Regions from separate parts of the Homo sapiens genome. Here region 1 is linked to region 2. The links are contacts of gene promoters, found by promoter capture Hi-C in blood cells and fetal thymus (Javierre and others, 2016). All regions are on one chromosome and are shown on one strand. Each heading gives the region's core, a stretch centred on a gene start or on the middle of the fragment in contact. The rest is flanking DNA. Distances are from core to core; before and after follow the strand shown.

Evidence for each region. Contacts are between HindIII fragments. The CHiCAGO score rates a contact against its expected background, and 5 or more counts as called.
Region 1: a fragment that was not itself captured here is called in contact with the fragment with the promoter of AARS2 in region 2 in 1 of 17 cell types (neutrophils); the score reaches 5.5 in neutrophils.

The regions. Positions count from the first base shown.
Region 1 is chr6:43,819,446-43,825,790 of GRCh38, reverse strand. The region is part of intron 1 of LOC105375070 (a long non-coding RNA gene); the gene reads right to left. Among named protein-coding and RNA genes, the nearest start is that of LINC02537, 30 kb to the left of the region's middle. The HindIII fragment of the contact is 7,431 bases long and covers 1-5,967 here.
Region 2 is chr6:44,311,968-44,318,473 of GRCh38, reverse strand. It overlaps AARS2 (alanyl-tRNA synthetase 2, mitochondrial), which reads left to right and starts at 5,127. Exons shown (of 22, transcript NM_020745.4): 1 at 5,127-5,393; 2 at 6,211-6,402. The coding sequence starts at 5,151. LOC124901322 (a long non-coding RNA gene) reads right to left here. Exons shown (of 3, transcript XR_007059594.1): 3 at 3,927-4,323. RefSeq lists an enhancer at 4,823-5,382. The HindIII fragment of the contact is 8,838 bases long and covers 1-6,506 here.

The DNA of each region.
Region 1 (6,345 bases), core at 1,003-3,502, 490 kb after region 2:
TGTGTCCTGGGGAGCTATCGAGGAAGCCAGCACAGGCCTCCCCCAGCCCCTCAGGACATGCATTCCCTGGCTTCAGAAGAGGCTGAAGGCAAGGAAGAACACATAAACCCCTTCCAGGGACCAAGGACAAGCACTCTGGGGAAACAAGTGTTGACACACAGAATAGGCTGGGAACTTAGGAGGTTTCCTGCGACGGGAAGGGGAGCCAGGCCCAGAGAGGAAGTGGATGCTTCAGAACACAGAGGAATTCCCTCCACTAATTTTACCTGACCCAGAGAAGCTGGGCTTGGGAACTCCCTCAGGGCAAAGCTCTGCGTCTCCCCTCAGACTGAGGCCCCCTAAGGACGGGGCTGTGTCTTCCCTCAGACTGAGGTTCCCTGAGGACAGGGCTACATCTCCCCTCAGACCGGGCCCCCCTGAGAAAGGCTGCATCTCGCCTCAGACTGGGACCCCCCTGAGGATGGGGCTGTGTCTCCCCTCAGACTGGGGCTCCCTCAGACTGCGGCTCCCTGAGGACACAGCTTCATCTCCCCACTCAAGTTGGGGGCTGAGTGATAGAAGGAGGTGGTTTTCCTCGTCGTACTGGAAACTGGGAGCCAAACATAGAAGTTGAAGAAGACTAATTCCATGCCATGACCAGAAAGAACTCACTTTTTTTGGTCATGTAAGTGGATTATCTTTATTGAAAATAAAATAAAACCCTTACATACATTCTGGATATCAAATCAGTTTCAATTAGGTGTTCAAGCTCATTTACTCTGAAAACATCTTCATCTACCAGGAAAAAATAAATAAACAGTTAAAATTTCATCTCACTTGTTTTTCAAATTAGGTAATATATCCTCACAGTTCAAATATCAAAGTAATTATCCTTGAGAATTCTCACTCCCAGTACCCGCACCCCCCCCACCTTCCCATTCCCTCCACCACATGTAATCACTTACATTAGTTTCTTACGTATTTTTTCAGTGTTTGTTTATGCAAATACAAATAAACACTAGTGTTCTCCCCTCTTGGAGAGAACTTTCTGATAGCTAACTAGATGGCATCCAGTCAAAATCCCAGCTTTGTCTCCAGGCTGTGATGCTGACTCCTTTGGCTCTCACGTCCCTCTCCTGGGCTGGGGTGACAGCCACAGCCCTGCTTGCTGCGAGAAGGAGGAAGTGTATGTGACAGCCCAGCGTCTGCAAGCGCTCAGTACGTGCTTATTGGTTTGGGTTTCTTTTTTAAAGAAATCATCTGAACCCAATCTGTTTCCCATCCCCTTAAGTTTGGCTGAGCTGGCTTGTTGGCAAGTGGATTTGGAGAGAAGAGCTCTTTAAGTGAAGAGGGTGGGTTGTGAGTGGGAGACTGTAAGAAGTGGGGTGAGGCCATTGCAAATGTGGAGGCAAGTGGCACTCCTGAGGTCTGCGGGTTCTGAGAATCTCCCAGCAAGGAATCCTGGTCCTGGGAACAAAAGTCATGCCCATGTTTCCCTGGCAGCTCAAACCCTGCAGCCTCAGAGGCCAGGTTTAAAGCCCTATCTAAGGTACACAGCATTATCTCCATTCCTCCCCGTGGGGGAGCCCAGGCCTCCTGGAGGGCCTGGCTCCCACTGCTTCGTTAATATTTACCATAACTGGAAAACAGCAGGCACACACAGGCATGGGCTCCCTTCCCAGACAGAAATGTGCACTCAGCAAATCACCCCTGTGGATCCCCAGGAGCCCCTTCCACAGCTGGGCGGGCACCAGTAGAACAGACTAGACTGGTGACATCAAGTCTCTGCACACCCACTGGCAGCCCTGGCTCCTTCATGCAAGGGAGGACCAGTGAGACAGGTGACTGACCAAGACCCCACCATCCATACACGCGGCTGTTGAGCATTTGAAACATGGCTGGCCCAAATCAAGACATGCTCTGGTGTGGAATACATGCCACATTGTGAAGTGTTTGCATGAAAAATAATGTAAATTATCTCAACAAGTTTTCATATATTGATTGCAAGTTCACCTGTGCATTTTACTTTTTGATGAGGCTTCTAGAAAATTTTAAAATAGAGATATGGCTCACAGTATAGTTCTATGAGACAGCACTGACCCAGAGTGCTACGGGAAGTGTAGTTTGGAGGCTGCCCTTTGCCTTCTGCCTGGCGCAGGATATAATCACCACACCGGCTCCAGCTCCTAGAGCCTGTCCTGTTCTCTGAGAACAGGAGCCAGGTCTCCCTTCCCTCCTAATTTTCCCTGAGCGCCCAGACGTTTGGGAGCAGGGATAGGCGGCGATGTGAGGAGCCAGCCAGTCACGCTGTCTGCCAAGTCAGTGACAGGGTAGCGCAGGGAAGGCCAAGTCCCCAGCCCTGTGGCCACCATTATAAGCCTCCTCTGTGCTGATTAGTGATCAAATTAGAAGTTGCTCATTTCCTTCAGGTGGATTTTAGAGGAGGCATTGTTTCCTCAAGACTTAAGATTCAGGCATTCAACAAGGTGTAGATGAGAACACACCTGGGTTGGAAATGGCTTGGAATACTCAAAGATTACAAATTTTCACATAGAATTCACAAATAAATGTAGGAAAAGGCATGGCACAATGTCTGTCTTCTTCCGTCTTCCACTCAGCCTTGTCCCATCATTTTTTATTGTTTTTGTAGAGACGGGGGTCTCATTATGTCGTCCAGACTAGTGTCGAACTCCTAGCCTCAAGCGATCCTCCCCCTCGGCCTCCCAAAGTGCTAGGATTGCAGGCGTGAACCACTGCAACTGGCCAGCATTCCACCATTTTTAGACACACAACCCACCTAAGTCCCTTCCTCCTAGAAGAGCTCTTCTTGCAAAAGAAGGTCCCCCAAGTCCATTCTTTTCCAAGCTCAACATTCTAGTTCTTTACCCATTTCTCACGAAGCCTCCTTTACAATTATTTAACTCCCTGTGTGCTCCTTGAACAGACTCCACTGTGTCTCCCACCTTACTGTCCCCTAGCCGAACCCAGTTCCCCTCATTTGGACTTGCTGCTGCTGAGCCCAGGGGGCCAACCGCCTCTCTCATTCTGGATACGATATGTCCATTAACCCACCCTATAATTGCCTTGCTCTTCAGATTACTACACATCATTGCTGACACACAGGGAGTTGTCAAAATTCTCTAAGTCTTTTGCACTAGGTACATTTACCCTCTCTCATTATGTAGTTGGCATTTGGGACCTGGAAATGTCACCTGGTATCACTGTGTCCTCTATTCTTCCTTGTATCGTGGCCACCTGTCTTGGTTCTTCTGAGTCCTGATTCTCTCACTGATGGCTCGCTTTTCCACCCAGGGGGAACAGAATCACATCTAGGCCCTCGTCGGAATCATTAGCTAGTGGTGGGTCAAGTGCTCACCCCCACCACTCTTGGAAAGTGCTCTGGTCAAGGTACCAGTCCTACGATCAATCCTCAGTCCTCATTCCACTTGGCCTTTTGGCACCATTTGTCACATTTGGCCGCCCTCTTTTTTTTTTTTTTTTTTTTTTTTGAGATGCAGTCTTGCTCTGTTGCCCAGGCTGGAGTGCAGTGGCACCATCTCGGCTCACTGCAAGCTCCGCCTCCCAGGTTCACGCCATTCTCCTGCCTCAGCCTCCCAAGCAGCTGGGACTATAGGTGCCCACCACCACGCCCAGCTAATTTTTTGTATTTTTAGTAGAGATGGGGTTTCACTGTGTTAGCCAGGATGGTCTCGATCTCCTGACCTTGTGATCCCCCCGCCTCGGCCTCCCAAAGTGCTGGGATTACAGGTGTGAGCCACCGCACCTGGCCCACCCTCTCTTATGGAAAGGTTTTTTCACTTGATTTTCAAGTCATCACACTCTCTGGTTTTCCTCCTTCCTCCCTGGATGCTCCTCCTTAGCCTCCCCTGCTGGCTTTTTCCAGCTTCTCAACTCTTCAACACTGGGATGCCTCATGGCTTGTCCTTGGACCCTGGTCTTCCTTATTTTCATTTACTCTCTTTTCACACCATCAGCAAAAATATAGGGAAAAAGACCCCCTCAGACATTCAAAAATGGCCACAACTTCTATGAAATTTGGAAATTTGACAATACCTGTAAATATTAAACACACATACATTCTTTGGCTCAACAATTTCACCTCTGAGTATTTATTCTACAGAAACACATACATATCACATGTATCAACCACGTGGGAAGTGATATATAGACATACAACCCTGTTGACAACTCCCTGTGTGTCGGCAATGATGCATTATTCACTGTGGAAATCTTGATAAGAGACAAAGACTGGAGACTTTCGGAGGCTGGTTGAATCCATGATGAGGCATCTATACCACGGTGCTCCACCAGCATGAAAAGAATGAGGCAGCTTCACATGCACTGCTATGTAAAAATCTTCAAGACACATTGTTAGAGGAAAGGAAAGTTAGAGTTTTTAAATGGCAAGGAAAATATGCTACAGTTTGTTTTTTTAAAGGGTAGGTAGGTAGATTAGATTAGATAGATAGATAGATAGATAGATAGATAGACAGATAGATAGATAGATGATAAATGAAAAAGATTATATAGATCATAGATAATAGGTAGATGAAAAGATAGATGAAAAAGATTAGATGATAAATAGATAATAGATTAAAAATAGATGATAGATGATGATAGATATATAGAAAGACAGATTCATATAGAGGAACTGTTTGGCTAAGAGTGAAGGGTGAGAGGAAGACTTTTCATAGTATACCTTTTGTGCTTTTTGAATTTGATTCAATGGATATTTCTTATCTATTTCTCAACACTCCTATTTTTTCAGTTGACCTGACACAACTAGTTGTGGGGAGCCCATGCTGGCTCCTGGTGACCTCTTTCCTTTTCTATTGTCTTTTTTTTTTTTACATTTACTGATGTACCATAAAAAATATTACAAATGATACAATGAAGAGGTGCATAGGGCAAGGTATGTGGGGAGGGTCACGGAGCTTCCATGCCCTCCCTGGGCTGGCCACACTCCAGGAACCCCGTGTTCAGCTATCCGGAAGTTCTCCGAATGCTGTCCTTTTGGAGTTTTATGGAGGCTTCATTACGTAGGCATGACTGACAACTCCGTAGAAATATGATTGGACAAAAAGAGTATGATCTCACACTAACATACAGAGTAGGAACCCAGCAGGGCCTGTCTGTTTGGATTCTTCTTGGCCTCTCTGTGCAGCATTCTTTCCTCCAGAGGATGGGGCAGGACCCTCTCTGGAATAAGGGTCTTTTGACCTACAATCAGATTAGAGTCTTGCCTTGGGCAGGTAAAAGGAGGACAGGAGAAATTTAGAGAGCAAGATTCTGTAAGCACCCCAACATTATGACAACCATGTTATGACAACCATGTATCAAAGGCTATGTCTGTATCAAGATTGTATCAAAAGCTATGGGAATTATGAGCCAGGAACCATGGACAAAACCCTACACACACACACACACACACACACACAATCGTAATATCACAGGCCATTCCCTTGTTTTCAAACATGAATCCTTCACATCAAAAGAATGTACAACTCAAAACATACTGCCACATCTGCTCAGTTCTGGGAATTACTTTTAGTTTAAAAAAAAGAAACATACTGCCACATTGCGAGAATCCCATTCAGTCATTAGTAATTAGTCCAGTCAATCATTGTAAGGTACGAATATGTCTCCCAGGGGAGGCCACTCAGGCTTGTAGGCTTCCTTTCAATCTTGTCAGGTTCCAAAAGCATGAATGGTCTCAGCAAACATCGTTTTCACCTTTTGGGCATCTGTTATAATTGAGCTAAGCAATAATGTCGTCACTTGCTCTGAGTCTCTTTGAAGGTGTTAATGTAATGTTGGACTTCCCTCCATTTATAACCCATTTGTTCATTCCTTTACCCTCAGCTACTGTTTCTCCTTCTCTCCATTAATACCCAAACTTTTTCACCTTTGGAAGGGACATTAGAATCGCCACTGTGCTAGTCTAGTTTGCAGGCAGCAATACAAGCTTAGCAAGTACTTCCTCCTCAGTTCGCTCCCATTCAGATAGGGTAAAGTTACATAGGTGCAGAACTGGTGAGCTATTTTTACCACCAGGCAATATAGCTGCATTCACTCTTAGCCCCACTTTTGCTAGGTGGGGTAAAGGCACAACCCTCCCCCATTAGGCACTTAAGAATTCTGATGTAAGGTTTAAAAGCATAGTGACAGTGTCTTGCTTAGAAATCATCCCTGCTTCCAGCACTTTTGGTTGCAGCCCTGGTCCTAGAACCACTGCATCAGGCAGGGGAAAAAAATTTTTAAGGTGATTTGGGGAAGAAAAAATATATATAGTCGTTATACCAGTGTACTCCTCCCTTGGCAAGAATTGCATCGTCATACCAGCAT
Region 2 (6,506 bases), core at 3,878-6,377:
CGGGGCTGCTAGGATCACAGAAATACAGACAACCATACATTGATGTACCCTCTGGTGAAGGGGTATCTATGGTCTTGCCAAAGAGATTCAAAATTGTGTCTAATCAAATCTCCACATCCAGGTGCTAATTTGCATGAAATAGAGAAGACAGAGGAACATGTTGAATGTGAGTTGAATGTCGAATATGGAGTCAGCAAAAACTTAGACTGTGGGAAACCACAGATCAAATCTCCGTAGCTAAGCAGTAGATACACTGTAAGGAAAAGGATGGAGATGGAACCTATTGATAAAAAGACTTAAAATATCAAGTCGATACGCTTTTTTAAAAAACGTGCAAGACTATAACATCTAAGGATGTACATTTGGGTGATAAACTGTAAAGAAATGCAATGCAGGCTGAACTCGGTGGCTCACACCTGTAATCCCAGCACTTTGGGAGGCTGAGGTGGGTGGATCACCTGAGGTCAGGAGTTCAAGACCAGCCTCGCCAACATGGTGAAACCCCATCTCTACTAAAAATACAAAAATTAGCCAAGCGTGGTGGTGGGTGCCTGTAATCTCAGCTACTCAGGAGGCTGATGCAGGAGAATTGCTTGAACCTGGGAGGTGGAGGTTGCAGTGAGCCGAGATTGTACCATTGCACTCCAGCCTGGGCAACGAGACTGAAACTCTGTTTCAAAAAAAAAAAAATGCAGTGATTACTATGAAAGTCAGGGTAATGGTCACCTTTGGGAGAAGGAAGCTGGTTGGGGGCAGGGCAGAATCCATGGAGGGGCCCTGGGGTGGCTGCAAAGTTCTATTTCAAGACCTGGGTAGTGGATACAAAGATGTCTGCCTTTGAATCAACAACATTGAAACAAGTCAACATTTGTTTTGGTTGATTTTCTGCATCTACGTTTTATGGTGTGATTTTTAAAAAATCTCTATTGCAGTGTTTGGCAAACTTTTTTTGAAAAGCCACGTATTAAATATTTTAGGCTTTCCAGGCCAAGAGGCAAAATCGAAGTTGTTATGTAGGTATTTCTTTTTTTAGTATTTATTGATCATTCTTGGGTGTTTCTCGGAGAGGGGGATGTGGCAGGGTCATAGGATAATAGTGGAGAGAAGGTCAGCAGATAAACACGTGAACAAAGGTCTCCGGTTTTCCTAGGCAGAGGTCCCTGCGGCCTTCTGCAGTGTTTGTGTCCCTGGGTACTTGAGATTAGGGTGTGGTGATGACTCTTAACCAGCATGCTGCCTTCAAGCATCTGTTTAACAAAGCACATCTTGCACCGCCCTTAATCCATTTAACCCTGTTTCAGAGAGCACGGGGTTGGGGGCAAGGTTCTAGATTAACAGCATCCCAAGGCAGAAGAAATTTTCTTAGTACAGAACAAAATGGAGTCTCCTATGTCTACTTCTTTCTTATGTAGGTATTTCTATAACCAGTTAAAATGTTTATCTTGGAGACCGAGGCATGAGGAATGCTTGACACCAGGAGTTCAAAACTAGCCTGGGCAACATAGCAAAACCCTATCTCTTTCAAAAATAATAAAAATAAAATAAAAATAAATAAAATGTAACTACAGTATTTTTTTAATGCATGAGGATAAACCTCTAGAATTGAGGCCCTCAAGGGTCCACCAATACTTGAATTCCTGATCCGGGGGCTCCACCAGCCATCGGCGTGCCCTGATGACTTTGCCAGATTCCCATGGTAACCGCTCCCCTTCCACCCTGGTCCACATTAACCTCCACGGCTCTAAGCCACAGGCGGACGCAATCACCACCCTCACTTCCCTAAGAAGCTGGGGGAAGGAAGGGGGCGAGCGCTCTTGCGCACGATGAGCTCCCAGCTACACCCACCTACTCTGGGTGAGCACCCCTCCCAGGAGAAAGGGAGAACCTAAGGGCACCTGAGTCTTAGGCCCCAGGACCAGGCAAAAGAACGTTTCCTAAAGCCTGTGTCCAGACTCCCCTCACAAGTCCTTTACTACACCCTTGTCACTCAAGGTATGGTCTAGTAGACTAGCAGCAGCAGCAGCATCACCGGGAGCCTGCTAGAAATGCAGAATTTCACCTACTCCAGACCTACTGGATCATAGTCTGCATATGTAACAAGATCGCAGGAGATCCATATGCATATTAATGTTTGGCAAGTGTTGGTTGCTTTCACAATCCAGATAAGCCAATGCCATAAATAAACACATCAAATCAGAAACACCTGTCGTAGGCTGACTTTTTAACCTAGACGCTAAAAGACTGTTTTTATGATTTATAAGAGGAAATTCCCAAAGTTGAGTTCCCCATGCTTAGTAAGAGTGAAAATTCCCTTTGTCTTCTCTGACCATCAATCCAGGACAGAATGTCTCACTGATCTTGGGGTCCTGCTCTCAAAGCCAATCGGGAAATCAGAAAGGACACTTTCTACTCCTAGAATAAGAGTGTTACATCTTTTAAACAAGGTGAAAGGGAGAGCACAAAGAATGGCTGGATGCCTTGAACCTACCAAGATAAGTAGGTCGAATGGCAACGTAAGGGTAAATCCCACCTCCAGGGAAGATAAAGCACCACTGTCTTAAACAATGAAAGGAGCACCCCAAATGTTGCTCACAAAACCCAGCTGAGTAACTCGCAAAAAGCAGACCCCATTTGCATGTTAAACCTCAAAATGAAATTCCCATAAATACTAAGACAGTGGATCAGTACCCTTCAGAGAAGTTCCCAGGATTGGTAACTTCCCTGTCTGATGAGTTTTCTCCACCTCCATCTATCTTGGGAAACTGCAGTCCTTCAATTTAACTTCCTCATCAGATGACAGCTGCAAACCAGAACAGACACGTCCCAATCCTAGATGAACCGCTTTGCTTCACTGGGAAATATTAAAAAGAACCTAATGATTCACCAAAGAGCACCACATTTAAAGAAAAGAAAATTATCATTTTTAGTGGCAAAGACAAAATTAGATGAGAGAAAAACCTACTTCAAACAGAAAACAACTAAAAACATTTTTCTAAAAATCCATGGTACATGCTACAACATGGATGAACCTTGAAAATATTATTTTATGTGAAAGAAGCCAGTTACAAAGAACCACATATTACATGATTCCATTTACATGAAATGTCCAGAATATACAAGTCTGTAGAGACAGAAGGTAGATTAGTGGTTGCCAAGGGCTAGGAAGGATGAGACGATTGGGGGTTAATGGCTAAAGGATTTGGGGTTTTATTTGGAAGTAATGAAAATGTTCTAAAAGTGATTGTGGTGATGGATGGGCAACTCTATGTAAATATACTAAAAGGCATTGAACTGTATACTTTATTTAAATGGGCGAATTGTATAGCATGTAAATTATATTTCAATAAAGCTGTTTTAAAAAAATTATATGGCTCCACACTAGATCCATGTTTGGAGTTTCTAATGTAACACAATGACTTTCTGGGCAAAATCTGAAAAAAAAAAAGTTGATGTCAGTACTGAGTAGAGGCCCTGCCAGGTTTGTATGGCAAAACACTCCCATCTCAGTTTGGGAAATAATTTCACAGTCTTGTCTAAAGATCATCAATCTCAGCTGGGCGCAGTGGTGCATGCCTGTAATCCCAGCACTTCGGAAGGCTGAGGTAGGCAGGTCAGCTGAGGTCGGGAGTTCAAGACCAGCCTGACCAACATGGAGAAACCCCATCTCTACTAAAAATACAAAATTAGCCGGGCGTGGTGATGCATGCCTGTAATCCCAGCTACTCAGGAGGCTAAGGCAGGATAATTGCTTGAACCCGGGAGACAGAGGTTGCAGAGAGCCGAGATTGTGCTATTGCACGCCAGCACAACAAGAGTGAAACCCCATCTCAAAAAAATAAAAAAGTCATTAATCACACAGAAATCCCCAGCTGGCTTTAGCTTTCTGTTCCAGAAACACTGGAAAAACCAAAACAGGCCAAACACACTTTCAAAACAACACCTTTAATCTATGTGGGCAAAGGGAGAAAAAGGGGATCATGGAATAGGAGTTATAGGTGCTGTCAGAACACAAAGTTAAGAATTTACTATCACTATAGAAATTCAAGTCCAATGTAGATTCCGCAGAGAAACTATGTATACAAAGACCCCAAATAACTTAACACACACAGAATCGTGGCTAAAAGAGACCACCCTGATGGCTAAGGCCTTCTCGGTTATTACACTGACCTCAGCTCTGGAACCTCTATTGAGTTTTAGCTTTGGCAGATTCTCTTCTGTCTTCCCAATCTGTTTAATTTCCCAAGCCAAGGGCATCATGAGAAGCCCCATGAGCACCCTGATTGCATCCACAAGGGCCTGTTGGCTTCAGGGTCACAGCTGTTACTATGGAAAGACAGAAGGGAGAGGTAGAACAGGTATATCTCTTATCCTAAACGAAAACACACAAAACCTTAGGGCATTAGAAGGCTTAGAGAGTGAAATCTCTGCAGCTATTAGCCAACAGCTTCCTCCTGCCTTGACGACCTGGATTCTCTCTGATCCCCAGGCAAATGAGAAGACCAAATGTTAGGCAATTAATAATATAGCAGATGCTGTTTGGCTTCTGTGTTCTCCTATAGACTCCTGCTTCACGGGCAAAAATGGCCGTGTCTGATGCCAAGGTCCAAGGAAACTGGCAAATGCCTAGAACAGTGCCTAGCACATACTAGGTCTTCAATAAATATTTGTTGAATACCTCTTGAATGAATGCTGATACTCCCCTGTCACTCTCTGCCTTCTTCCCTCAGCCTGGAAAAACACACACAAAACACACACACACACACACACACACACACACGAAGTTGAATCCACACCTGTTTATTGCAACCCCATCTGTAACTTTGCAAAACTAATAAGCACAACAGCAATTACTGCTAGAATACGGATTTCAGTGGGCAGGGCATTTTGTCAATTTTGTACCCTAAAAGCCCAAAACAATGCCTAGCACATAGTAGGCTCTCAATGAATATTTGCTTAATGCCGAATGAATTAAGAGCCTACTATGTGCCGGGCGCTGTGCTAGACTCTGCCAGCGACCCAATCGATCGCTTCCACCCCGGCGGCAGAGGCCGCCCCCTGAGTCCTCCTACCGCCAGGGGCCGCTGTAGGAAACGCCTGGCTTCCTTCCCTCGTCACTCTTTGACCACGTAAAGTCACTGCCCGGAGCTACGATGGCAGCGTCAGTGGCAGCTGCAGCCCGGAGGCTGCGGCGGGCCATTCGAAGGTCGCCCGCATGGCGGGGCCTCAGCCATCGGCCGCTCTCATCGGAGCCCCCTGCAGCCAAGGCCTCGGCCGTGAGGGCCGCCTTTCTGAACTTCTTTCGGGACCGCCATGGCCACCGGCTGGTGCCCTCCGCTTCCGTGCGGCCCCGCGGCGACCCCAGTTTGCTTTTTGTCAATGCGGGCATGAACCAGGTGAGGGCCGAACCATACTGATAGGGAGCGGAGTTCGTGAGTTTTCTGGTGAGAAAGACGCTGCAGGATTGGGCAAAAGAAGCGAGAGGCGGAGTTCGTAGCTTTTGGGGAAAGAGGGCGGTGCTTGGTTGGGTAAAGTGATGGGGGTACGGCGCTCAGAGTATAGGGAGGGCTTGGGGAGGGCTTGAGCTGGGAACTTCTGGATTGGGATTGAGTATTAGGTCCAGAAATGGCTGGAGTGGAATCCCGAGGGAGAAGTCTGATTTCATTTATTCGTTATTTAAATAAAGATAACGCTTTCATTAAATGTTTATTGATCACCTATTGTTTGCTGAGTACTATTCTCTAAGGTTTTGGTTTTTATCAACCACTCATCTTTTCTAGACTTCATTGTCCTCATCTGTAAAATAGGGGCGGCATAAGTTAACCTTAGAGGCCGTCTGGGCTCCCTACTAAATGAGTCTCAGTTTTGTTCCCTGAAGTTATTGGGTGTGGTTGAAGAAGCTGAGACGGAGGATGCCACCTTTCAGCGTCCCATTTCCAGCTCCCAACACATTCCTCCTTCTTTTACCTTGCCTATTTTACTAGGCAGAGGGTCTCCGGTTCATGATTTGTTTACCTCTTCTCTGCTCCCCACACACCAGAGATGGCTGTCCCGAGGCTCCCAGTTTGTCCTCATAGACCAAGATTACACTGCACTCTCAGGGGCACAGTCAGCCTTCGGTCTGAACAGCCATCCCTATCCTCACTCCCCACATTTCCCTTCTACTGAGAAATTGGATATCCCTCTCCCCCTCCCCACTCTATGTGCTTCCAGTTCAAGCCAATCTTTCTGGGCACCGTGGATCCACGAAGCGAGATGGCAGGCTTCCGACGTGTGGCCAACAGCCAGAAATGTGTGAGAGCTGGAGGACACCATAACGACCTGGAAGATGTGGGTCGAGACCTTTCCCATCATACCTTCTTTGAAATGCTTGGCAATTGGGCCTTTGGGGGTGAATATTTTAAGGTGAGTCTCTGGGGATCAGTGATCAGCCAAGAAGGGAGTCAATTTGTCCTGTTTCCATTGTACTGTCTGCTTAGGCAGGGCCTCATACCAGATGTGGAGGCAAA